5 separate regions of the Homo sapiens genome follow, and regions 1, 3, 4 and 5 are each linked to region 2. Evidence: promoter capture Hi-C in 16 types of primary human blood cells and fetal thymus (Javierre and others, 2016). All regions are on one chromosome and are shown on one strand. The core of a region is centred on a gene start or on the middle of the fragment in contact, and the rest is flanking DNA. Distances in the headings are between cores, read along the strand shown. Region 1 has its middle 52 kb from the start of SCML1. Region 2 holds the start of PDHA1 (pyruvate dehydrogenase E1 subunit alpha 1). Region 3 overlaps NHS (NHS actin remodeling regulator). Region 4 overlaps NHS (NHS actin remodeling regulator). Region 5 overlaps SCML1 (Scm polycomb group protein like 1).

Region 1 (4,717 bases), core at 1,221-3,720, 1.6 Mb before region 2:
CAGTTAGGCTGCTCGGGGGTCAGGGACCCACTTGAGGAGGCAGTCTGCCCGTTCTCAGATCTCCAGCTGCGTGCTGGGAGAACCACTGCTCTCTTCAAACTGTCAGACAGGGACACTTAAGTCTGCAGAGGTTACTGCTGTCTTTTTGTTTGTCTGTGCCCTGCCCCCAGAGGTGGAGCCTACAGAGGCAGGCAGGCCTCCTTGAGCTGTGGTGGGCTCCACCCAGTTGGAGCTTCCCGGCTGCTTTGTTTACCTAAGCAAGCCTGGGCAATGGCGGGCGCCCCTCCCCCAGCCTCGCTGCCGCCTTGCAGTTTGATCTCAGACTGCTGTGCTAGCAATCAGCGAGACTCCGTGGGCGTAGGACCCTCCGAGCCAGGTGTGGGATATAGTCTCGTGGTGGGCCGTTTTTTAAGGCCGTCGGAAAAGCGCAGTATTCAGGTGGGAGTGACCCGATTTTCCAGGTGCCGTCTGTTACTCCTTTCTTTGACTAGGAAAGGGAACTCCCTGACCCCTTGCGCTTCCCGAGTGAGGCAATGCCTCGCCCTGCTTTGGCTCGCGCACAGTGCGCGTGCACCCACTGACCTGTGTCCACTGTCTGGCACTCCCTAGTGAGATGAACCCGGTACCTCAGATGGAAATGCAGAAATCACCCGTCTTCTGCATCGCTCACGCTGGGAGCTGTAGACTGGAGCTGTTCCTATTCGGCCATCTTGGCTCCTCCCAGAGGAAAGTACTTTCAAGCTTGCCTGAGGTCTGAGAAGCTGAGCTTTCTGCAGTGGTCTCAGTGGAACCTTTGACCAGAGCATTCGAAGGGTGCCTTTCCTGTTTCCTTTCTCGGCATTGAAACATCAAGATACGGAATCCAGAAGGGTCACCAGAACCTGGCCCTCTGCAATCTGGACTCGAGGCTGCAGACTTGCTGTTGAACTGGGCTGGGCAGGAGGGCAGAGTGGGCACCAGGGCCCACCTTCCTGGGGCCCTGAAAGGGTGGGATGGTGTGTACTGGTCCCCTCACCCAAATGCAGGTGTGGGAGGAGGACATCCATCATGATGCTACATGGCATTTGCTTCACCACCAGGAGAGAGGTGAGTGAGAGCTGGGCCCGGAGTCGTGCGCCTCGCAGAGATCAGAGTGGGCCGACGGTGTCGGAGGAGACTACAGCCCAGGTCGTGCCTCACTAGGAGGCTTCCTCCAGGTGGAGGTGCTGCTGCCTTCTACCACTCCTGGGGCACACTTGAGGCCCCACTTCCCGGACCTCCTCCCGGGGTCTCAGTGCTAGACTCAGCCTGGGAGACAGGCTGAAGTTCTCAGGCAAATTTTACTCTACCAAGGCCACCCTTTTGTAGGTAACCACCAGGAGCATGGACATCTCTGGGCTCAGGCTGGGCATCAGGCGTCCTGACAGTTCCTTTGGTGATCCTGGGGTGCAGCCGGGGTAGGGAACCCAGTGTCTGGCAGAGTGACCAATACTGGCTGTGTCGTGGGAGCGCCCCTGGCCCACCCTCCCTGCTTGCTCAAGGGTAGTGGCTGCCAGGCTAGGCCTGTGCTCCCACCACCGCTTCCGTCCCCCAGCTCCCCTGAGTCGCATTCCAAGATCCCCAACATTCCCCTGCTCTGTTCCTATCGTCCCCAGAAATGTCGAGGTCACTGCTTCAGCTCTGCACCCTGCAGTGTGCTGTGTCCCCAGCTTTCATTTTAGCTTGTCCCCAAGGCTACCAAGTCCCAGGCCAGCGATCTTCTCTCTCCCTGGCTTTGCTGGGACACGGTTTCCCATTAATGAAGGGTGAGGTGGTTCTTTTCTGAAAATCTGGACCCTTCAGGATTTTCAGTCTGGGCCCTCCCCAGGGGTGTCTCAAGAGGCTCACAGAGGAGGGGTGTATGCTAGGTAGGTGCCCGTGCCAGGACCACTCTGGAAGATTCCTGAGGTTGTTGCTGTGATCTGCCAGCAGAGGGCGCTGTATCCCAGCGCAGATGAAGTGGGTAAGAGGGTGGTTTCTTCCCAGTAGGTGGGTGGAGAAGCAGGGCTGTTCTGACTTTTTGAATTCCTTTGCTGCAAAAAAAATCCTCTTCCCGTGGTGGAGAGGTCAGCAGCTCATAAATGGCATGAGCAAGAGATTCCTTTTCTATGCTCACCTCACAAACCCTTTTCTGTAGTTATTTCAAATACACTTGCCCCCAATTTATATAGCAGATGTGTTCTTCGGAAGTTGCCCACATGCTAGATCGTGTCTCAAGTGCACTCAAGAAACCTCCCTCATTCAAAACAGAAACTGATGTTATCTCTTGTAAAGCAAACTTTAGATTTCTAATTCAAATAACAATTCATCCACTCTAAGGCATCACATTCTTGTAAGAAGAGTTTGATAAAGGGGGTTCAGCTGTATAATTTACTTTTGAGGAAGCCTCAACCCCCCTGCTCACCAGGTTGCAGACTTCTAAGGCTGCATAGCCTCTTGGTGTCACTACAGAGCTGCCCCCAGGGCATGGCTTTCCATGGGCCCTGTGATTGGACGGTGGCCTCTGGATAAGGGACTGTCCCTGGGTGGGGACACCTGAAAGTCCCATCCTCATCTAGCGTCTATTTGCTGCAAGCAAGGAAGGGAACCCTGGCCCGTGTGCACCTCCTACTCATGGGCCCTGGGCGCTTGCGTTAGCTCATCAATCCCCATGAGAAAGGCAGCTGAGTTGTGCGGTTTTACTGATGAGGAATCCAAAGCAGGGTGAGGTCTAAGAACACATGCCACTTTGATTCCAGGCCCAATTTTGCCTTCAGGCTTCTTTCTCCCAGCCTGTGTCACTTTTTCTCCTATTCTAACGAGTTCATTTTCTTGCTGATAGCCAAGCGATCAACCCTTTTCTCAGGCCAATGGGAAGGAAATCAAAATGACATTTACATTAGTTCAAATATTGGTCAGTAGTCTGGAAGCAGGCATGAAAGTGCCTGGCTGGAAACCCACTTTCATGGAACAAAGTGAAATCTAAAACTCTGCTTACTGGAATTAAAGTCTTTTTAAAATCTAGAATTGTGGTGACCTTGCTCCCTATTATTATCTGTAAACAAGATATAATACAAATACATTTATTTATCATTATTTATATCATTTATATCCCTTGCTCATGCTTACTGTGTGCTCATTTATTGAGTACCCTGTCCTTGGTACCCCAGTGCACAAACCCAGATACTTGAAGATATTTTATTATTTCCATTTCACAGTTGAGAAAATGGAAGCAGAGAAGTTAAGTGACCTGCCCAAAGTCATACAGCTAGAAAGGAGCAAAGCTGGGAATTCAATCCAGACTTTGTGGCTCTAACACTGGCACTCTTAACTTTTACTCAGGGTCTCCAGCCATCCCCCTGCTTAGGTGTAGTGACAGGCACTCATTCTACTTCTGATGCAGAAACCTCTTGTGCTTGGTTATTTCTCATATTTCAAGAAAGAAGAATGCATGGATCTCTAAGAGAATTTAAAGGTTGTGTTCAGCCAGTTGAAAGATGTATAATAGTCTCATTTCATTATGACCCGGTGGGATACATAAGATAATGAATTGGGGCGTAGAAAGAAAATATTGAACCTATTTATGTTTGTTTCATTTTTGTCCAACATTTCTATTTTTGCACTTATTTTATAATGTACATATTTGTTTGGTAGTCCATGCATGTCATTTATAAAGAAATCCACAAACTCTGGGGAGGTGAATGCTCAAGCATTTTCTTTGTATGCCAGTGATGAGATGTTGACTATTGCTTGCTTTATGTTTTATGTATATTTTTATAAGAGTGTAGAAACCACTTTTGAAGAATCCATCTTGTTTTGAAAACATAGTAAGCCATACGGTTTAAAGGAATCAAGTAGTTCATCTTCTTTTGCAAAGTCAATTATAGATTCCAGATATTTGTTTCGTATGTTTGGGTTTCCATATATTGTACTGGTTTGGCTAAGAAGGGCACACTTGCACTTTCCACATAGGTTCAGTGCAGTCCACACACATTTATTGAGGGTCCCCTACATGTCAAGCACTGTGTTAGGTGTATGAGATACAATGACAATGACCTTGGCCCTAGAGGAGTGTGTGACACAGTGGGATAGACAGAGTCATACTTTCAATTGAATGAGATGGATGAGTTGATATACAGATGTGTGCATATGTTGCTATGGGAGGGCAAGAGGGGCTCTTAGCTTATGCCAGAGCAGTCATGGAAAGCTTTCTGGAGGAGGTGTTGTTTTGAGCTGAATCCTGAAGGATTAGTCAGAGTAAGAAGATGGCGAAGGTCAAGTGCAGTGGTTGGTGCCTATAATCCCAGCTCTTTGGGAGCGTGAGGTGGGAGGATCACTTGGGGCCAGAAGTTCGAGACCAGTCTGGGCAACAAAGAGAGACCCCGTCTCCAAACAAAAAACAAACAAAAAAAACCCAAGAAGGTGGGGAAGGAGTGTCAAGAGGAGGGCACTCAGGGGTGGAACCTCACAGGCAGGGCTGGGAACTGCTAACCTTCCTGTATCCCTGGAGCTTACACATAGGGTGAAGCAGGGAGTTCTAGCCACAGTGCTGGGCTGGCCGTGACCTCAGGAGGCCTGCTGACATGTGAGGCCACAGGGTGCGGGGAGGTATCCAACACCACAGGCTTTTATGCAGCAGAACGACATGGTGAAGCTTGCCTATTACCAAAACAATCCCGGTGGCAGTATAGAGGAGAGAATCAGGCAAGCTAAAGATGGG
Region 2 (4,895 bases), core at 2,239-4,738:
TTGTTTTTTAGAGAGATGGGGTCTCGCCCTGTCACCCAGGCCGCCATGCAGCGATGCCGCCATAGCTTACTGCAGCCTCAAACTCCTAGGCTCAAGCAATCCTCCCTCGTCAGCATCCCTAGTAGCTGGGACTACAGGCATGCAACACCATACCAGACTAATTATTTTATTTTTTGTACAGACGAGTATCACTTTGTGGCCCAGGCTGGCCTCAAACTCCTGGCCTCAAGTGATCCTCCTGCCTTGGTCTCCCAAAGTGCTGGGATTACAATTTCCCCCAAGATTAACGAGCCCTCCTTTCTTAAGACTTTCTCTTCCCGCCTTTTGCAAATCTTTCTTTCTCTCCGGCCTCCTCTCCTGATACAAGAGTCTTTTGTGAATGTTCTAGCGCGTTACTATAGCCTATAGTTATTATAGCCTATAGTTAATGACTATAACATTACTATAACGTTACTATAGCCTATAGTTAATGACTATTAACCACAATCATCACCTGTCACCACTTGACACAGCATCTCACAGTGTCCCTCACCTTCAAAGTTGCTTCCAACTCTGCTTTCAAATATCTGAAAACAGCTGGGCGCGGTGGCTCACACCTGTAATCCCAGCACTTTGGGAGGCCAAGGTGGGCAGATCACCTGAGGTCAGGAGTTTGAGACCAGCCTGGCCAACATGGTGAAACCCCGTCTCTACTAAAAAAATACAAAATTAGTCGGGCATGGTGGTGCTCGCCCGTTTTCCCAGCTACTCGGGAGGCTGAATGAGGAGTATCACTTGAACCTGGGAGTCAGATGTTGCAGTGAGCCAAGATGTCACCACTGTACTCCATCCTGGGCAACAGAGTGAGAATCTGTCTCAAAAAAAAAAAAAAAAAAAAGAGGCCGGGCGCAGTGTCTCATGCCTATAATCCCAGCACTTTGGGAGGCTGAGACGGGCGGATCACGAGGTCAGGAGATCAAGACCATACTGTCTAACATGGTGAAACCCTGTCTCTACGAAAAATACAAAAAAAATTAACCGGGCGTGGTGGCGGGCACCTGTAGTCCCAGCTACTCGGGAGGCTGAGGCAGGAGAATGGCGTGAACCTGGGAGGCGGAGCTTGCAGTGAGTTGAAATTGCACCACTACACTCCAGCCTGGGCGACAGAGCGAGACTCTGTCTCAAAAAAATAAATAAATAAAATATATATATATACACGTATGTGTGTATATATATGTATATATATGAAGAACAAGAAGTGCAGAGAAAATATCCTAGTCATTGAAAAATTGGTTACTTTGTTTCTGCACTGCAAAGTTACTTTAAACTTTGTAATGAATCTAGTGGAGAGATCATTTGAGATGAGGCAAATGTCCTGTTTCTCATCATACATTTACCCACTAATTTTAGCCTGTATTGATGATAATTCTCACCTGCAACAGTTACTGTGGTCTTTGCCAAATGGTGATTTTCTTTTTCTATTTTCATCATTCCTTCTATATTAATTAATTGGAATTCTACTGTAAGGAAAAGTTGTTCCTTCTAACCCATTGATTTGTTCAATCATGTATTTAAGTAGGACCTATATTTTACTTGTTCCTTGCTATATCTTCAGTGTGTAGTACAGTGTCTGACACAAAATCGGTGCTCAATAATAGGTGTTGGATGAATGAGCAAATGAATGAATGAATTCATATTCATATGGCCTACAGAGTTCCCGTACATGCACAACCAATATCACCACCCCGTGGAGATGACTCCCAAATTAATATTTTTAGCAAATGTTCCAGACTTACAACTCCAACTTCCCGGGGGACATCTTCAGATAGCTGTGCCACTGCCACCACCAGGTCAACATGTCCCAAACCATTCAGACCAGCTTTTTCTCCTGAGCTGGACATCTGGCCTCCAACCTTTTCATTCTCTTTTACCTTTCATATTCTATCAGCAGCAGCAGCTGCTGAAATCATACCATGCAAGTTTCTCACGTCCATCTCTGCCTTTTAATGGCGCCCTCTCACTCCTTTAAGAAGTTTTCTTCCACTGCAACACGATCTCTCAGTCCAGAGTCTGGCCCAGTGCCCAAATTATTTCTCTAGCTATGCTGAGAGCTGGTCATGCTTTGAACTTCTGCTTTGAATACTTTCAGTGACACTGGGAGAGAATTATCTCATTGGACCATTGTCATTGTTAGAAAATTCATTGTTATGCTGAAATGAAATGATTTTATTCACACACACACACACACACACACAAAATAGCTCTTCCTCCTGGAACATGACTGGCCTGAAAATGTGTGAAGACATATCCAATCCTCTCTGGTTTTACTGTTCATCCAATTTTCTGTTCTCCTCCTGGCAGGAGGATTATATTTCACCTTGTGGAACTCAGACATGGTCGGGTAACTAGCTCTGGTCCGTGAAAATTGAGAGGAAGTGACATGTGTCACTTCTGGGCAGAAGCTTTGAGAGCCGGTTTAAATGATCCCTTTTCTCTTCATCCATGAGACAAGCTAAGTTCCAGAGAGAGGGTGCCACGCTGTGAGGGACCTGTGTTACGAGTACGATGGCTCGCGTCACTTCAAATTCTTGAAATCACTGAAATTTGGAGGTCAGTTGTTACATCATAACCCAGCCAATTCTAGTTAGCCTGTTTTCTTCCTAACTTCTTTAATCGTTCTTCATAAGTCACAATCGCAGCCCCTCACCGTTCTGACCACTGTCCCCTGGATTCCACTCAGTTTACTCATTATCCCCCTTAAAATGTGGAGCCCAAATCTGAACCCGGAACCCCAGGTGCAATCCCACTAGGACACAACACAATGGGTTCCTGAGCCCTTTGATCCTCTGAATAGAGCCCCTTGTTGCTTTGGTGTTTTGTCTCTGTGTGTGCTTTTATCATCGGCTGAGCCACGCTGTTAACTCGCAGTGAGCCTGTGAACCAATAACTAGAGAAAAAAGATTTTTCCCATTGTCCTCTCGACATATATTGGGAAACAAATTTTTTGATCCGCGTTCAAGTAGACAGGGCAGAACTGTCCAACTGCTACGTGATCTTTTAAAGACAAAGTTAGTGGCAGACCATTTACAGAAACCAGATGTTCTGTCTTTTGGCTCTGAGCATGCTGCTAATCTTCATCATCTAGTGTACTGAACGAGATGTACTGAACGAGGGCTGCAGAGCTGCAGCACCGGCAGGAGTAGGCGCTCGGTAGGACGGGGCCTGCACAACCTCCCCGGTAGTCAGCAGAGCGGAATCTAGGAAGGCTCCTTTCCCGCGGCGCCCTGGAGGCGGGGGCCCCACCTTCCCACGCAGGCGCTATCAAGCCCCGCCTCCTCACCCGCCCGCGGCGTGGCGTCGGAAAGAGCCCTCAGCCCCTCCCTCTCTGGCGCTGATACCCAATGGGCAGCCTCAGGCCTTTAGCGGGGGCGGGGCACCCCCTGGACGCCGTTCTGGTTGGCCCGCGGCCCGGCGCAGCGCATGACGTTATTACGACTCTGTCACGCCGCGGTGCGACTGAGGCGTGGCGTCTGCTGGGGCACCTGAAGGAGACTTGGGGGCACCCGCGTCGTGCCTCCTGGGTTGTGAGGAGTCGCCGCTGCCGCCACTGCCTGTGCTTCATGAGGAAGATGCTCGCCGCCGTCTCCCGCGTGCTGTCTGGCGCTTCTCAGAAGCCGGTGAGACCTCCCGGGCGGGCCGGGATGGGGCGCGAGTGGGGCTGAGGCGGGGCCGGAGGGCAGGGCGGGCCAGGCCGGGCCACCCAGAGCGGGGTGGAAGGCGCCAGGGGAGCCGGGGAGCCTTTACTTCGCCTCCGCGCCCTGCATTCCGTTCCTGGCCTCGGGAGAAGCGGCACGGACCGGGATCACGCCAAGGTCCGTGTGAACTTCCCCCTTCTCGACACCCACCTCCCGCCCCCGGGCCCAGCTGTGCGCCAGGCGAAGTCGGTGTGCTCAAGAGGTGCCTGTTGGGTTACAGGACACGGAAAGGGTGGCCTCGGCCTCCTTCGAGTCTCCAATTGACCCCACTCATTTCGGATCTTCTAACTTAATTTCTCTTGACCGAGAGGCTTTGTAATAGCGTAGAATCTGGAGACAGGGTGGCTTCGTTCAAACAGCACCCTCACCATTGACTAGCCCTGTGACCTTGAGCAAGTTTTTAAACGTCCCGGGGACCCGGTTTCCTAAAATGTTTGCTCGAAGTGGAGTTAATCTCTAAATGGAGATAAGAGTTATCTCTGAAATGTTATCAGTTAACTCTAAAATGGAGATAATAAGAGTCCCCACCTCTTGGGGTTGTCTTGAGGATTCAACGAGTGACACGTGTGGAAACGATTCCAAATAGCACCTGGCACATAATCGATAACATGTGTGTTGAATAGTGTTATTTATTGAGTCTCCAGTTCGGTATACATTTCTTGAACACCTGTGCTCAGTTCTGAGGCGGGTTCACAGAAGGTCAGCCTCTTCAGAAACAAACTTCCTCCTCTTCCCTCTCCCTCAACATCTGAGCTTTTCTTGGCAGTGAGTTCAGGAGCGCCGAAGCAGAACTCAGAGGACGCTGCCCTCCCCTCCCCTTACCTACACATTCTTAGGGTACAAGTAGCTAAAGCAAAGAGCAACGATGCTTGAGGGGTGGGGGGTAGAGTTTAGCACTATTTCATGGCCTCAGCATTTAGAGGTGCCTAACACCTGAGCTAGCATTCTGACCCCCCTAGGCACAGTGAGGTCGTGTTAATTGGTGTAACTGCAGGCCTCGGGATTCTGGTATTTCCCCCAGGACTTGATACCGCTCTACTTAGTACAGGCAGAGATTGTCAAAAGGTAAGAGGTATGCCCCTCTAGGAATCCTGTTGCCTAAAATAATGACAAAACTGCCGGGTGCGGTGGCTCAGGCCTGTAATCCCAGCATTTTGGGAG
Region 3 (4,712 bases), core at 2,152-4,651, 1.6 Mb before region 2:
ACGTCATCGCCTCTGGGGCTTTCAGCCCTGACCAGATGGATGTGGCTGTAACTCAGCCCAAGCCCTCAAGCATGGGTCACAGATGATGAAGCTGAGCCCATCTCAAAACACCTGCAAATACTATCAGCAGCCACTACAAACACATCACCGCAGATGTGCCTTCTGGGGCCTCAGTGGGGACAACTGAGCACTTTGTGCCTCTGAGCAGGCATCATTGAAGTGAGGGACTATGGCTTTTGTGACCAAATCAGCCCACACTGCCTGTCTGAATGTCTGCATTCCTGCTGTCTTGTCATTCTGGTTCAAGACCCAAAGTCTAAAGAAGTTACAATAGTGTGGGTACGAGTTAAGGTTTTTATTAGAAATTAAAATTGCGTGTATGACTCTAAATTGTGCACTCTTACGGCTTTTACAATATGCAAGAGAGATGCAAAATATTTGGGTCACATGGTGCCAAATATCCAGCCAAAAACAGACTTTATCTAAATGAACCCACATGATATAACATCCAGATAAGACCTTGAGTGATAATGGACAAAATATAAAAACATTTTTCCTATTTGTAGCTGGACTGCAGGCAGGTCCTTCAGTGCTCATCAAGTGCACACTGAGCGCCGTGTTGCACTTACTACATTGCTGCACTGCAGCCCAAGGATAAGAAAAGGAGACAAGGGCCTCTTAGGGCTTTCTAGTTCTTCAGATAGAGCAGTTTCACATGCTAGTGATTTGTCATAAAGCAGAAGTTCTTAAGCAGCTCAAATCTGCTTGCTGAGGCATTTGCTTTTAATGAGGCATTTTCTGCATAAAAATGCTAAAATATTTTCCCATTCATTATAACATGTTTTATGGCTAATTAAGTTGGTTTTCTTGGAAGGGGGAGGTGAAAGAGAAGAATTTTGAGCATTTACAGAAATTACATAAAAATATAACCCTTTCTCATGATCTGCATAATTTTTAATAATGTCTAAATACTAAAGTAAGACTATAGGAAAAGGCTTAAAATGACGAATAGCAACGAGAGTACATCATTTACTTACCCAACAAACATCAATAAGAGAAGACTATGGATTACACTTAGGTAAACTTCAGTAAGTTTGTCCATCCCAAATGATAATACTTAGTATTTCTAAGTAATTTTAACTGTTTTATTTGTTCAAGAGTTTGGGTCACTACAAGGATTAGAAGATTTTCATTTGAGTTATATCCCTTAGGCCTGGATAGAACATAGTTCAAGCTCACAAGACTGTATATTGCTGAAAGACAAATGGCTGCAGGTATAGAGACAGGAAATTTGTAGTCAAATTGCTGGATAGACACATTTTCTTAGACAACTCTCCTTTCATGTTTGAGATTTGGTGAAGGCATGCTTTTCTTCCTTTAAGAAAGCATTCATAATGAGATTGACATACAGTCTTCTGCAACTCTGCAGGCTATTGTACTGTACCTTGGTCATTAATGGCATGGACCATGAAGCTAAACTGCCTGACTTTGAATACCAGCTCTACCACTTGCGAGCTGTATGACCCTGGCAAGTTAGTCATTTCAGTGTCTTGGGGATAGAAGTAGATAGTACCTCATAGCCTTGGCATGAGAATTGAACGTGGTAATACATGTAAACAGTACCTCATACATAAGCACTACATAAACATCAGATGTTATTATTATTATTAGCCAATCAATTCCCTGAAGTATCTATAATATGGTGATAAGATCATAGGTCCAACCGTGTTTAAATCCCAGCACTACAACTTTTTGGATGTGTGACTTGGAAAAAGCTATTGTATCTTTCTGACTCCCAGTCTCTTTATCTGTAAAATGGGGATAATATCAACTTTACAAGGTTGTTAAGGAGGCTAAATATGATGTTTTAGAAATAAGATTAAACTATGTATATGTATTTGTGCAAGTGCCTAGCACAGTGCCTAAAATACCTGAATGTGAGTCTATATTCAAAATCGTTTACAATAAAATTCTTACCATCAAATGAAAAGCCTATAACATATACTCACATATAAGACTAGAGGAAGTATAAATTGTTACACTCTTTCTAGAGGGCAAAACTCTAAATATTCATAACTTTGATCCAGCAATTTTACATCTAGGAATTCACCCCAAGGCAATAATCAGTGTATGCAAAGATTTATTCACTAGGGTGTTCATCAAAGCACTGTTTACAATGGGAAAGTTAATCACAAATATCCCAAATGTCTAACAATAGGGACTTAGTTTAATGAATACTAATATAACTATAGGATAGAATACAATATCAAAAATAGTGTTAGAGAAGAATATTTAATGACATGGGAAAATGTATATTTTATTATCAGGGATTTTTACATAGTTTATAAATTTGTGTATAGTATAATCTCAAAAAATGTCAACGAGTGTATATGTATGTGTACATATACATACGCATAGGGGGAAAAGGCTGGAAGGTTGTATATCTGTGATTCCCAAACTGTGTGCTGAGGTGCCTTAGGGCACTGCAGTGAACTCCTAAGGGTGCCGTGGGATATTTTAAAATTTCAAGGGACAAAGTGTCATCTGTCTGGTGGCATCTGGTGATGGCTCCAAAGTAACCTCATAACTCCTACAAGTGAGAAGAGAGGATGCTTGGTTTCTTGACATTTAATTTGTACCAAAAGTTCTCCAGGGGGAACTCACAGGAAACAGGACAAGCCAATTTAGCATAAAACCCTAAACCCTTTGTTAGCTGAAAATTCAAGGAGTATCTCTAATTAAAGCCCATCTAAGAGTCCTTACTTATCAAGGGTGGCAAAGGAGGTCATTTCAGGGAAAAGCTTCCTTAAAAAAAAAAAAAAAGGGGGGGGGTATCTATTCCATCCTGCTGGATTTTGAAATTCTATAGCCAGAGATTAGTTTAAGATCATTTATTTGGGACATGAAGTTACTGTGGACCTGAGCTACAGAGAAGAGATCGAAACAAACGTCACGAAATCAACACTTGCACATAGCATCTCAACCTTTTCTTTAATGCACCACAGAAACTACAGCTTTAGGCTGGTAAAGGATCTGAAGAGTTATCTGGGCCTAGCTAGGAACCAAATGTAAAAAGTTTGTAGTAAAAATGTTCCCAAGGGCAATATGAAAGAGAAATTGCCTGGGATCAACTTCTGTCCACATGAACTCTTGGCTGCAGACTGACTTGTTAAGTGTCAGAATACTGATTATTTAGGGAAAGGTAGGGAGAGGAAAGGGTTCCCGGAGAGGTGTGTTTGTGTACTAAACAAAAACCCAGTTACTGAAAGTCATTTGCCTCCAGGCAGAATTTCTGGGTAATTTTTCTACCTTGTCTAGGCTGTGGTCAAATTGAGAATGGCAAATGTGTATCAAAACAGGAGCGTTTGCCAGAGCTGTAACAGGTAGCCTGTTCCCTGCAAATCCAACCATGTGTTTTCACTCTTGGTACTAACCATTAGAAGTAGTCTACACAGCCTTTCTTTGGTAAGAAACAATACTTTTATGTGCTCAAAAACTATTAGACTTAGACTTACAGTGCTGATGGCTGGAAAGTAGCCTGTTTGAGGCAATTGAATACATAGGTTTTTTGGTGGATCGAAATATACACTGAGACTCCCAGGTAGCTGACTATAATGGTGATACCCTAGGTCCCCATCTCCCATTATTTCCTCCAAAAATGATATAGAACAAGAAGGGAAAAATAAAACTACACAGAAAAACACACCATCAGCATAACTTGAGGACAGAGAATTCCCAAACATCAAATTGACTGTTAAGTAAAAGAGAGAAAACACCAAGTCTCAGCATATTTCCTCCTGTTACAAGGTGAGGGAGGGCAGATTCAGAAAGCCACATGGAAGAAATGAACTAGCAGTGGGTCCTAAGATTGATCTAAAACCACCACCAGAAAAATTGTCTGCCCTAAGTCTGAAAAATACTACAGATTTTTTCAGATAGACACAAACTACAAAAAAGGGCCTAAAAGTATGCATATTTTACAGGAGCAGTTTTCTCTATATAAAGCTTCTGGGGGAGACAAAAGACAAACAGGAAGGGAAATCTGCCCTTCAGCAATTGGGAGTGAAGAAGAAAAGAGGCAAAAAGGAAATTTCTAGGACCCTGCAAGACAAAATAAAACCAAAAAATTCAAGGACACGCAGGAGTTGTATGTGTCCTTCAACTCCTGCCTCACCACCAAAACAAACAAATACACTAAAATATTTGAACTTCAACAAACTGACAGAAGATGGTGCCATTAAACTAGGGATCTTGTGAAACACACCAAAGCCACACAAATGAGTAAGAGATAGATTAGCAGATCCACATAGAGTGATTGCAAAAGGTCAATGAAAGAATATATGAAGCAAGGGTTTTATGTCCAACCATGCTGTTCATCAAGTATAGAAAAGCAATTTTCAACATACAGGAACTTAGAGAATTTTGCACCCATGAGTCCTTTATGAGGCATCTACCACAGGACAAGCTTCATCCAACCAAGGGATAATTGGGGAAATGTCAGCAAAAGGATGGGTAGCATACATTTTAATACATGTAAATGTAGATCTAAAACTAAAAGTACAGTGGAGATGAAGATAGAAAACTAAGGTGCAATTTTAAATGTTGTGACAACAGAGAATGATACAACTAAAAATGAGAGAAGGGAGAGGTAAAGAAGAAAATAGAATAAGCTAATTGATCACTGTCTAGGCAATAAGTGGCTGTTAAAGGAT
Region 4 (4,476 bases), core at 276-2,775, 1.6 Mb before region 2:
GCTTGGCATCTCCATCAAGTGGCTATTCAAGCCAGTCTGAAACGCCAACATCCTCTTTCCCTACAGCTTTCTTTTCAGGTCCATTGTCTCCCGGAGGTAGCAAAAGAAAACCTAAAGTCCCAGAAAGAAAATCCTCACTACAGCAACCCTCTTTAAAAGATGGAACTATATCACTGAGTAAAGACCTTGAACTTCCAATTATACCTCCTACCCATCTTGATCTAAGTGCTCTTCATAATGTCTTGAACAAACCATTCCACCACCGTCATCCACTGCATGTTTTTACTCATAATAAGCAGAACACAGTAGGAGAAACACTGAGGTCGAATCCTCCACCGTCCCTTGCAATTACACCAACGATCCTGAAATCTGTTAACCTTAGGTCCATCAACAAGTCTGAAGAAGTTAAGCAAAAAGAAGAAAACAATACAGATCTCCCTTATTTAGAGGAAAGCACACTCACAACGGCTGCCTTGTCTCCAAGTAAGATTAGGCCGCATACAGCAAATAAATCAGTATCTCGTCAATACTCCACTGAAGACACCATACTGTCCTTTTTAGACTCTTCTGCAGTTGAGATGGGACCAGATAAACTACATTTAGAAAAAAACTCTACTTTTGATGTGAAGAATCGCTGCGATCCAGAAACCATAACATCAGCTGGTAGCAGTCTTCTAGATTCAAATGTCACAAAAGACCAAGTGCGTACAGAGACTGAGCCTATTCCAGAAAACACGCCAACCAAAAACTGTGCTTTTCCCACAGAAGGATTTCAGAGGGTCTCTGCTGCCCGCCCAAATGATTTGGATGGTAAAATAATACAATATGGACCTGGTCCAGACGAAACTCTAGAACAGGTACAGAAGGCACCCTCTGCAGGTCTGGAGGAAGTTGCACAACCTGAATCTGTGGATGTAATCACATCTCAGTCAGACTCACCAACTAGAGCAACAGATGTAAGCAATCAATTTAAGCATCAATTTGTTATGAGCCGCCACCATGACAAAGTGCCTGGTACTATCAGCTATGAATCGGAGATAACATCTGTAAATTCATTCCCTGAAAAATGTTCCAAGCAGGAAAATATTGCTTCAGGTATTTCAGCCAAAAGTGCCTCTGATAACAGCAAAGCAGAGGAGACCCAAGGAAATGTGGATGAGGCTTCATTGAAAGGTCAGTCACTGATAACTTTGTCATAAAGGAAATGTGTCTCATGGCACTTCCTGGAATTTTTTCTTATGTTCCCAATAATACGGTACAGCCCTGGGTGTTGGTTTCCCTCCACTATTTCTTTGCACTTATTAAAACAATTGAGATAAAAGCTTTTGTTACTGGGTGAGTAAGCTTTGACAGGTATCTCTCTCATTTTTAAAAAATGGCAGCAAGGTAATTTCTGTTTGTTTGTTTGTTTGTTTGTTTGTTCCCTGAGTCAGTGAAGTACAGTAGCGTGCTGGGTAACTTCCTCTTAAAGATTCTTCTGTTCTTATTTTAAGAATCATCACCGAGTGATGACTCCATCATTTCACCACTTAGTGAAGACTCCCAAGCTGAAGCAGAGGGTGTGTTCGTGTCTCCAAACAAACCTCGAACAACTGAGGATTTATTTGCAGTCATTCACAGGTGAGGCAACATTACCAAGTCCCCCAAAACAAAAGGTACAACAAAGGTTTTGCCCCTTCAGGTACTTCTCACAAATGCAAATACAGGAAAGCTTTTTGTAATTGTAATACATTCAGCAAAAACAAAAGCAAGCAAAGAATAATTTTTCCAAATCAAGTTGATAGACTGATATGCAAGTTGGGAAATAGGATCTTTATATAGAGTTTGATAGACCTCGATTGAGAGACTTTTGTAAGAGTGGCTTTATTTTTCCCCAGGAAAAGACATTCTGGAACAAGTTTTTATGTGAAAACAATCTGTGGTTAAGTGACTTGGAGTGAAAGCTCAAACTCTAGTGTAATCTCTGACTTTTGAATACTTTCTTGAACCTAAAAAATATGATCAAAGCTGTAGTCATACACCAGCAGAGACAAACAGAAGTTGATTCACCATGGATGCACCAAAATCTCAGAAATCACCACTAAAGAACTTATTCATGTAACCAAATACCACCTCTTCCCCCAAAACTTATTGAAATAAAAAATAAAAAACTCACATTGTACCCTATAACTATATACAATTATTTGTCAGCTTAAAATAAAATAAAACTTAGAGAACACACACACACACAAAGTTGATCACAAAACAGTCTCAAGTTTGAGAAAAGACAATACGTGTTCCTGTCCATTTTATAGCTCAGAACAAGTAATAATTTCTCTGTTTTTCTTTCTTCTTAGAACTTAAATTTCTTTAATAGTACTGGCCTTCATCCCCAAAATTAATGCCCATATTCCATGAATACAGGTCTTTTGGGTTGCTTTTCCAGGACAGTGTTGTGTCCATGCTGCAAAGGCATATTTCCTCATCTGCCCCCATGAGCCCTTGTGATCCATGGTCCATATTTGCAAAAATTATTCCTTATAGCTAATGACCAAAGAACAGAACAGGAACTAGCCCTTGGACACCTAATCTACATATAACTGAGCTAGCCAATCATGATTTGCCATGCCTCCTCCTTTCACAAACACAACTGTCTTCTTAGACCTCGGGAACCTAGATGGAACTCCCAAGAGATACAACTTGGGGATTGTCTTTTCTACCTCATAAAGTTATCATTTTTGAAACAAATTCATCGTAAGCAGCTTACAATCTTTTTCTCCTGGAATTCTACTTTTTATAGGAATTTCTGTTTTCTGTTGATGTGGTTCTCTCATAAAGAAGGAGTACTGCTGTTCAACAATTGTTTTAAAAGGAGCCAATCAGAAACACCTTCTATGTATACCTTAGCAGGCATACTTCTCTACTCAGAGGGTGAAGAACCATTAGTTTCTTTTCCTTCACCCCTGTGCCTAGTCTAAGCTCTGATTATATTTCCCTCACCCCCACAGTTTATCTTCAATCCCAGGAAAAATTACTAAACTGCTATGTAAGTTAAAAAGTTACTCCCAAAGGACCAAATGCTAGTGTATGGAATAGTGGACAGGACGTAAATAGTGGGGTCAGAAAGACCTGGATTTGAATCCCAACTCTGCCACTTCCTATGCAGTCTTGAGTAAGTTAAAACCTCTGGACCTACTCCCTTATTGCACATGGGAATGCCTATAGCTCACGTATTTGATTTTGATGATAACATTTTTTGTGTTTAGAATATGGTAGGTGCTAAAAGCCATTGTTAGTTTGAAAGCCCTAACTTAGTGGAGTGCCAGACACTGCCATATACAAGATATCAACCACAGAGGTTTCTGTGAACCAAAATCAAGCATATCTACACTTGTGAAGTTCACATTTTCTCTACCATATGAATCTTTAAGTTGATGAAAGTGCATGCTGCCTATCAATGAACTGAGTCATACTGAAGATCCACCAAATTTATGCCTGCTGATTTACCAAAGAAAATCAATAATATGATGATGGGAGTCAAGGTTCAATAGATGTATTGAGTTTGGTAATCTTAGACTTGCATTTGTGCAGGGTTTACTTATTTATCTATTTACTTGTTTATTTACATCACAGCAAAAAGAATTATTTTGTTTTCTTGCGAGCTTACAGTATACAAAGCTTTAAGAGCTCCAGAGATGGTCTGGGATTTCAATTCCCCACAGAGAGCTGGCTTACTGCTTAATATGCTCTTGATGCTCTTAGGAAGCTATAGGAAATGATACTTGCAGCCCAAGATGAATTGACTTAAAACGTCATTTAATTATGTTTTTATATGGAGGGATTTTAAAAGGTAGAATAGTATAATGTCTGCTGACATATCCATCATCCAGGATTATCAACTGTCAAACTAGGGCCAATCCTGTCCCACCCACACCTCCATCCACTTGCTTTCTCTGGTATTATTTGGAAGCCAATCCCAGACATCAGATCATTTCATCTGTATTGCAGAGACAGAGTTAATAAGAAAAAGTTATAGTCTTTCACCCCCTGGAACCAGAAGTATAGTTTAGTTAGCAGTATAGTTTCTTCCTTTTTTTTTTTTTTTTTTTTTTTTTTTTGAGGCAGAGTCTTGCTCTGTCGCCCAGGCTGCTGGAGTGCAATGGCGTGATCTCAGCTCACTGCAACCTCCGCCTCCCGGGTTCAAGTGATTCTCCTGCCTCAGCTTCCTGAGTAGCTGGGACTACAGGCATGCTCCATCATGCCCGGCTAATTTTTGTATTTTTAGTAGAGACGGGGTTTCACCATGTTGGCCAGGATGGTCTCGAACTCCTGACCTCAAGTGATCTGCCTATCTCGGCCTACCAAAGTGCTGGGATTACAGGTGTGAGCCACTGCGCCTGGCTGTTAGCAGTATAGTTTCTTAAACTTTTACAAAGTATCCTCTAGAACCTCTAGCCTCCACATTAGCCATTATCTGAAATGATCATCTCTAGAACC
Region 5 (4,596 bases), core at 1,928-4,427, 1.6 Mb before region 2:
TGGGAAGAAGTAGAGGAGAATTTTCAAACGTGGAGACCTATCCATTGTTTCTACCTCTAGGAATTTATCCCATAGAACTACTTGCACAGGTGCAAGACTGTTCTGCAGTGTTCTTTATAAGAGCAAAACTTTAGAAGTAACTTGAATATCTATGAATTGGGGGCTGTGTTTAATAAATCATGGCATATTTACAAGATAGAACACTAAGAAGTCGTTACAGTAACTACAGTAGACCTAAAAGTACTGGTTTGGAAAGACTCTTTCCACCACAGGTTAGTTTTGCCTGTTTTTGAGTTTAATATCAATTGAGTCATATACTGTACTCTTTTGTTTCTGGCTGTTTTTAAACCCAAGGTTATGGTTGTGAGATTCGGCCTTGCTGTATACAGCAGTAGTTGGTTTATTCTTATTGCTGCGAAGTTCCTTTATATAAATATACCACAATTTAATTACTGATAGCCTGTATAAGTTTTATGGTCAGAAAACTCAAATAGTTTAAAAAGTGAAATTTGATTGAAGTTACAGCCCCAATTAGAGAGGTATTTTATAACTTGATACTTCTATGCAACATTAGTCTGCGTTTATCTAACTCGAGTTAGTTCTCCCATCTTCTTTATCCCTTTTGATTTCTGTCTTTTGGGTTCATGGTCATTAGTATCTCCACTATAGAATGAAAGGGAAACAGGAAAGAGATGAAACCTGAATCTCTTAATTGTGCCTCTCATTACTGCTCTGGTTCAGAAAGGATAGGGTAGCTCTTTCATTAACGTACCCTTCCCAGTAACTGTGATGCAGACATTCAAAGCAAATTTCTAGTACAAGATATAATCCGATACTCTTGCAGCCAGTTTTCTAGTTCCATAGTAAAGTGACTCAGAGCCATAACCAAACCTTCCTAATTTTAGATTGTTTGGCTTACCTTTCACATCCACTTATTTAGGTTTAATATAAAATTTAATAAGGCAATCCTAACTTGAAAGTTGAAATGGACCTTAGAGATCATCTCAACTGGTGTTCGAAACCTGGTGGATGAGGAGGTGGTGTCTCTTGTGGTCCGCCCAGCCCACATAGTCGGGGGGGACCCAATCCAGAATAGACTCCTGGCTTACATTTTGGAGGCAATGCTTTCTCCTTAGTCAAGAGCCTTTTGGAGCTCCTTTACAAAAGCAGTTAGCCCTTGCGTTCTCTTGTTCATTTGTTTCCAGCATTTACTCTGTAGGCTTTAAGTTACTAAGCAGTCACTTCACAGTTTGTAATTGTGTTTGATTTGATTCTTATTTCTAGTCATGAGCAATATGGCCCTTCAGTTTTGAAAGATTTATTCTAAATTGGCCATGGAAGAATTCTGGTTTTGTCACTCTCTAAAATTCAACCCAAAGTCCAATTCTATTTGAGTTAGCATTCTGAGAGTATATCCATATTATTAAGGTAGTAAGTGTATGAAGTAACTTTTTTATGCGTTGCTTTTCAGGAGTAGAGGTTTACCACTCTTAGGTGACTAAGCAGTATCACAAATAAACCCTCCAGCAAGTTTAAAAATAATTAGGTCCAACTCAGAGGAAGTGGAGTTTCTCCTGTTGCACAAAAATGATGTCTAACAGCTCCAGTGAAATCGATGTGGTTTGTATTCAAATTGAAAATCTGTCTTTGTTCTTTTTACTGTGCTATACTTCTACTCTAAATTTAGTTTAATTTTATACAGTGAAATGCATAGATCATAAGTAAATTTTTGTTATATATTTTAACAGTAATATATAAAGCTCTTGTGACAATTTGTGTACAAGTTTCTTTGTGAACACACACTTAAATTTCTTTTGGGTGAACAGACAGAAGTTGAATTACTAGGTCATGGAGTTCATGTGAATTTAACTCTGTGAGAATCTGCCATACAGTTTTTCAAAGTGGTTGTGCTGTTTTTACATTTCTGTTATATTCTTCTATATTTCTTCATCCTTCAAGTTGAATCAGTATGTAGATTATTAAACTATAAATAATTTGGCTTAACAGAAAACACCTTTTTTTTAGTCACATAAGGACATAGATATTAATGCTACCTAAGTAGTCTAGGCAATTCTCTTAACTACTGTCAGTCCTAATGTTTTTCAAAAATCTTTGGAGATAATGTTAACTGCCTATCAAGAGTCATTTTTCTCTGACATAACTATGTAAAAGCACTTTGAAAAGCATAAGGCACTATACAAGGGTAAGATAGTATATTTTTAAAAGTACTGAACTGTAACCCAATTCCATATGTTTTTGTGATTTCTGTCATGTATTTTGAAACAAAAACATACATAGCTACCAAGTATGTTTATTATAAAATTATTCCCATAGTTCATAATTCATTCTTAGAATGAAGAGTTATTATACTGAAGTGTAATGGCTATTTACTCCTTACTTATTTATACCCTGTCTTATTTTTAAAAGTTTTAAGGTACTTTAGAGATTAATGTATCAAGAAAAATAGGTGCTCAAATGTTTTCTGTCTTGTCCACAGAGGGGCACTGTTGGATTATTTAGAAATCAAAAAACATGTAACATTTATTTCTTTGTTCATGGTTAGAAATATTTGCTTTTAAAGTATTTCTGGTGCTAAAGGACTAGTCTTTCTACCATGAAGCATATAAAGGGTTAAGCTCAGTGAAAACTGTTGTCTTAAGTGTAGTTGGGTTAATGAGAACACAGTTCTGCAAATACATCTTTTCATGTAGTCATAGTATTTACAGTGAGCAAAGGTCCTTTGATATCACAAATAGGCCTTTGTAACAGCCTCTTGAAAGTGAAATTAAACCCTCAACTTTTCTTTTAGTTCTGTCTTTCATCTTCCCTTTTAATTTGTTGGTAAATTTTCCTCAGATAAAAACAAGAATACCTACTTACGATGAAGATGACAACACTATTCTTTATGCGTATGAAACAAAACCTGAATTTGTCAATAAAGTATGTTAATTGCTAATTGCCAAATATATTAACATTTGCTGTTTTAAAGGAAAAGATGTAAATTCCTCGTATACTATGGAGTTCCCGTAAACTCACACTCAAGAAAATATCTCTCCCCTGAATTTGTATGCTTGCTTTCATCAGAGAATGAGCACTTAACCAATTTACTTTCCCCTTTTTCTTATATAGTAGAAAATTAAGAGCAGTTTTGTACTCACTTTCAGTATAAAACTCTAAACCTGGATTCTTCTGATATAATAAATTCTTTTCTTGCCCCCTTCCTCAATTGTCAGTTTTTCATTCTCATATTAATGTGAATTTTAAAAATCTCTGCTTAATTTAAGACTTCTGAAACCCCTTGAAAAGTTGGTGATAAATAAAAACAATTTAAATAAATAAATATAGCTCCCCCCTGCCCCCAGTGTTCAGTTTGGCTGTTACAGAAATAAATCATTAACTACTTTTAAAATATTAGCAGGAACCGAATATTGTATCTGACGCATCCTGTAATACTGAAGAGCAACTGAAGACAGTTGATGATGTCCTTATTCATTGCCAGGTATGGAAGTTCTGTCTCTTCAATGTAGTTTTCTAAAATGTTAAGCAAAAATTCTCTTTATCTCACATAAAGGGAAAGTGTACAATTAATTGAAATTTTGCCTATCAATTTATTTATGATTATCATCCCATTGTGATGATTTTTTAAAACAATTTATAGTTAGAACCACATTTCCTGAATAGCAACATGTAGATTTAATAGCTTTTTAAAAAGCCCATTACCAACCAAATGTAGTTATGTCTCTTTCATCTACATTGCTCAGTATTAAATTAGTTTCCCCTACAAAATCCTTAAAGGAAATTGACTGATTTGGATGAAATTTAGTATGTGCCTAAATGCACATCAAGATATCTCAATGGAAACAAAGTGGCAGCCCATCAAGGTTTAGTAAAGAAACATACCTAAGGTAGTTTTGAGGAGTTGTTTTAAGAATCACCATGTTGGTAGAGATGTGATTACTGGGAATTTTGTGAGTTGCATACCCCAGAGGTAATGAAGGTTTATATATATATAATGTTTCTTACCATATATAAGGTTTCTTGAATGGAATGAGCTAACATACTTTGGAAAGTAAAATTGTTTGGGTGTTTATCATGATCATGGAGGAGAACAGAAGTGGAGTGCTTCCAAGGGACACATACAGTCTTGGGGGGAAGTGGGTGCAGAGGCGAGCTGGGAAGGGAGGGAGCAGGTTCTCCCCAGCCTGCCTCCCCATGCACTGCTAGGTCATGGTCTAGGTCAGCTTATACGCTGAGGTGGGAGGTAGCATCTGTGGGGGGAGGTGTCCAGGGCCATGGTCAGCCTGAAATGGCCCCAAGGGCCCCTCTCCATTGCTGCCAAGGGGCTGGCTCTTTCTTCCCCTACCCGTTCTAGATCACAGAGGTGGCACTCCAGCCTGCCTTGTTCTTTCATCCCAGTTCCCTCTTGAGTCTGTCTCCATCCTGCTTAGTCTGGAAGCAGAGGAAGACCTCGCCATCCCCTGCCTACCTCAGCTCCCTAGTCCTGCCTCTTCACTCGTGGAGATAGTGGAGCACCTGGGGCAGTCCTCTCCTCCGAGTCCTCATAACTGTCCCCACAGCCAACCAACTGCCCTCATC

What was found. Contacts are between HindIII fragments. The CHiCAGO score rates a contact against its expected background, and 5 or more counts as called.
Region 1: a fragment that was not itself captured here is called in contact with the fragment with the promoter of PDHA1 in region 2 in 2 of 17 cell types (naive CD8 T cells and non-activated CD4 T cells); the score reaches 7.3 in naive CD8 T cells.
Region 3: a contact is called between a fragment that was not itself captured here and the fragment with the promoter of PDHA1 in region 2, in 1 of 17 cell types (naive CD4 T cells). The highest score is 5.1, in naive CD4 T cells.
Region 4: a contact is called between a fragment that was not itself captured here and the fragment with the promoter of PDHA1 in region 2, in 2 of 17 cell types (non-activated CD4 T cells and M0 macrophages). The highest score is 6.6, in non-activated CD4 T cells.
Region 5: a contact is called between a fragment that was not itself captured here and the fragment with the promoter of PDHA1 in region 2, in 4 of 17 cell types (naive B cells, non-activated CD4 T cells, activated CD4 T cells and 1 more). The highest score is 8.5, in naive B cells.

Annotation. Positions count from the first base shown.
Region 1 is chrX:17,786,668-17,791,384 of GRCh38, forward strand. No RefSeq gene overlaps it. Among named protein-coding and RNA genes, the nearest start is that of SCML1, 52 kb to the left of the region's middle. RefSeq lists enhancers at 1-653, 654-1,424. The HindIII fragment of the contact is 3,463 bases long and covers 740-4,202 here.
Region 2 is chrX:19,340,439-19,345,333 of GRCh38, forward strand. It overlaps PDHA1 (pyruvate dehydrogenase E1 subunit alpha 1), which reads left to right and starts at 3,489. Exons shown (of 11, transcript NM_000284.4): 1 at 3,489-3,656. The coding sequence starts at 3,600. The HindIII fragment of the contact is 3,035 bases long and covers 2,440-4,895 here.
Region 3 is chrX:17,693,120-17,697,831 of GRCh38, forward strand. All of the region lies in intron 3 of NHS (NHS actin remodeling regulator), which reads left to right. Among named protein-coding and RNA genes, the nearest start is that of SCML1, 42 kb to the right of the region's middle. The HindIII fragment of the contact is 1,204 bases long and covers 2,800-4,003 here.
Region 4 is chrX:17,727,156-17,731,631 of GRCh38, forward strand. It overlaps NHS (NHS actin remodeling regulator), which reads left to right. Exons shown (of 9, transcript NM_001291867.2): 7 at 1-1,173; 8 at 1,494-1,620. Among named protein-coding and RNA genes, the nearest start is that of SCML1, 8.1 kb to the right of the region's middle. The HindIII fragment of the contact is 367 bases long and covers 1,343-1,709 here.
Region 5 is chrX:17,742,600-17,747,195 of GRCh38, forward strand. SCML1 (Scm polycomb group protein like 1) reads left to right here. Exons shown (of 8, transcript NM_001037540.3): 2 at 1,472-1,620; 3 at 2,857-2,940; 4 at 3,419-3,499. The coding sequence starts at 1,588. Among named protein-coding and RNA genes, the nearest start is that of SCML1, 7.4 kb to the left of the region's middle. The HindIII fragment of the contact is 8,319 bases long and covers 1-4,596 here.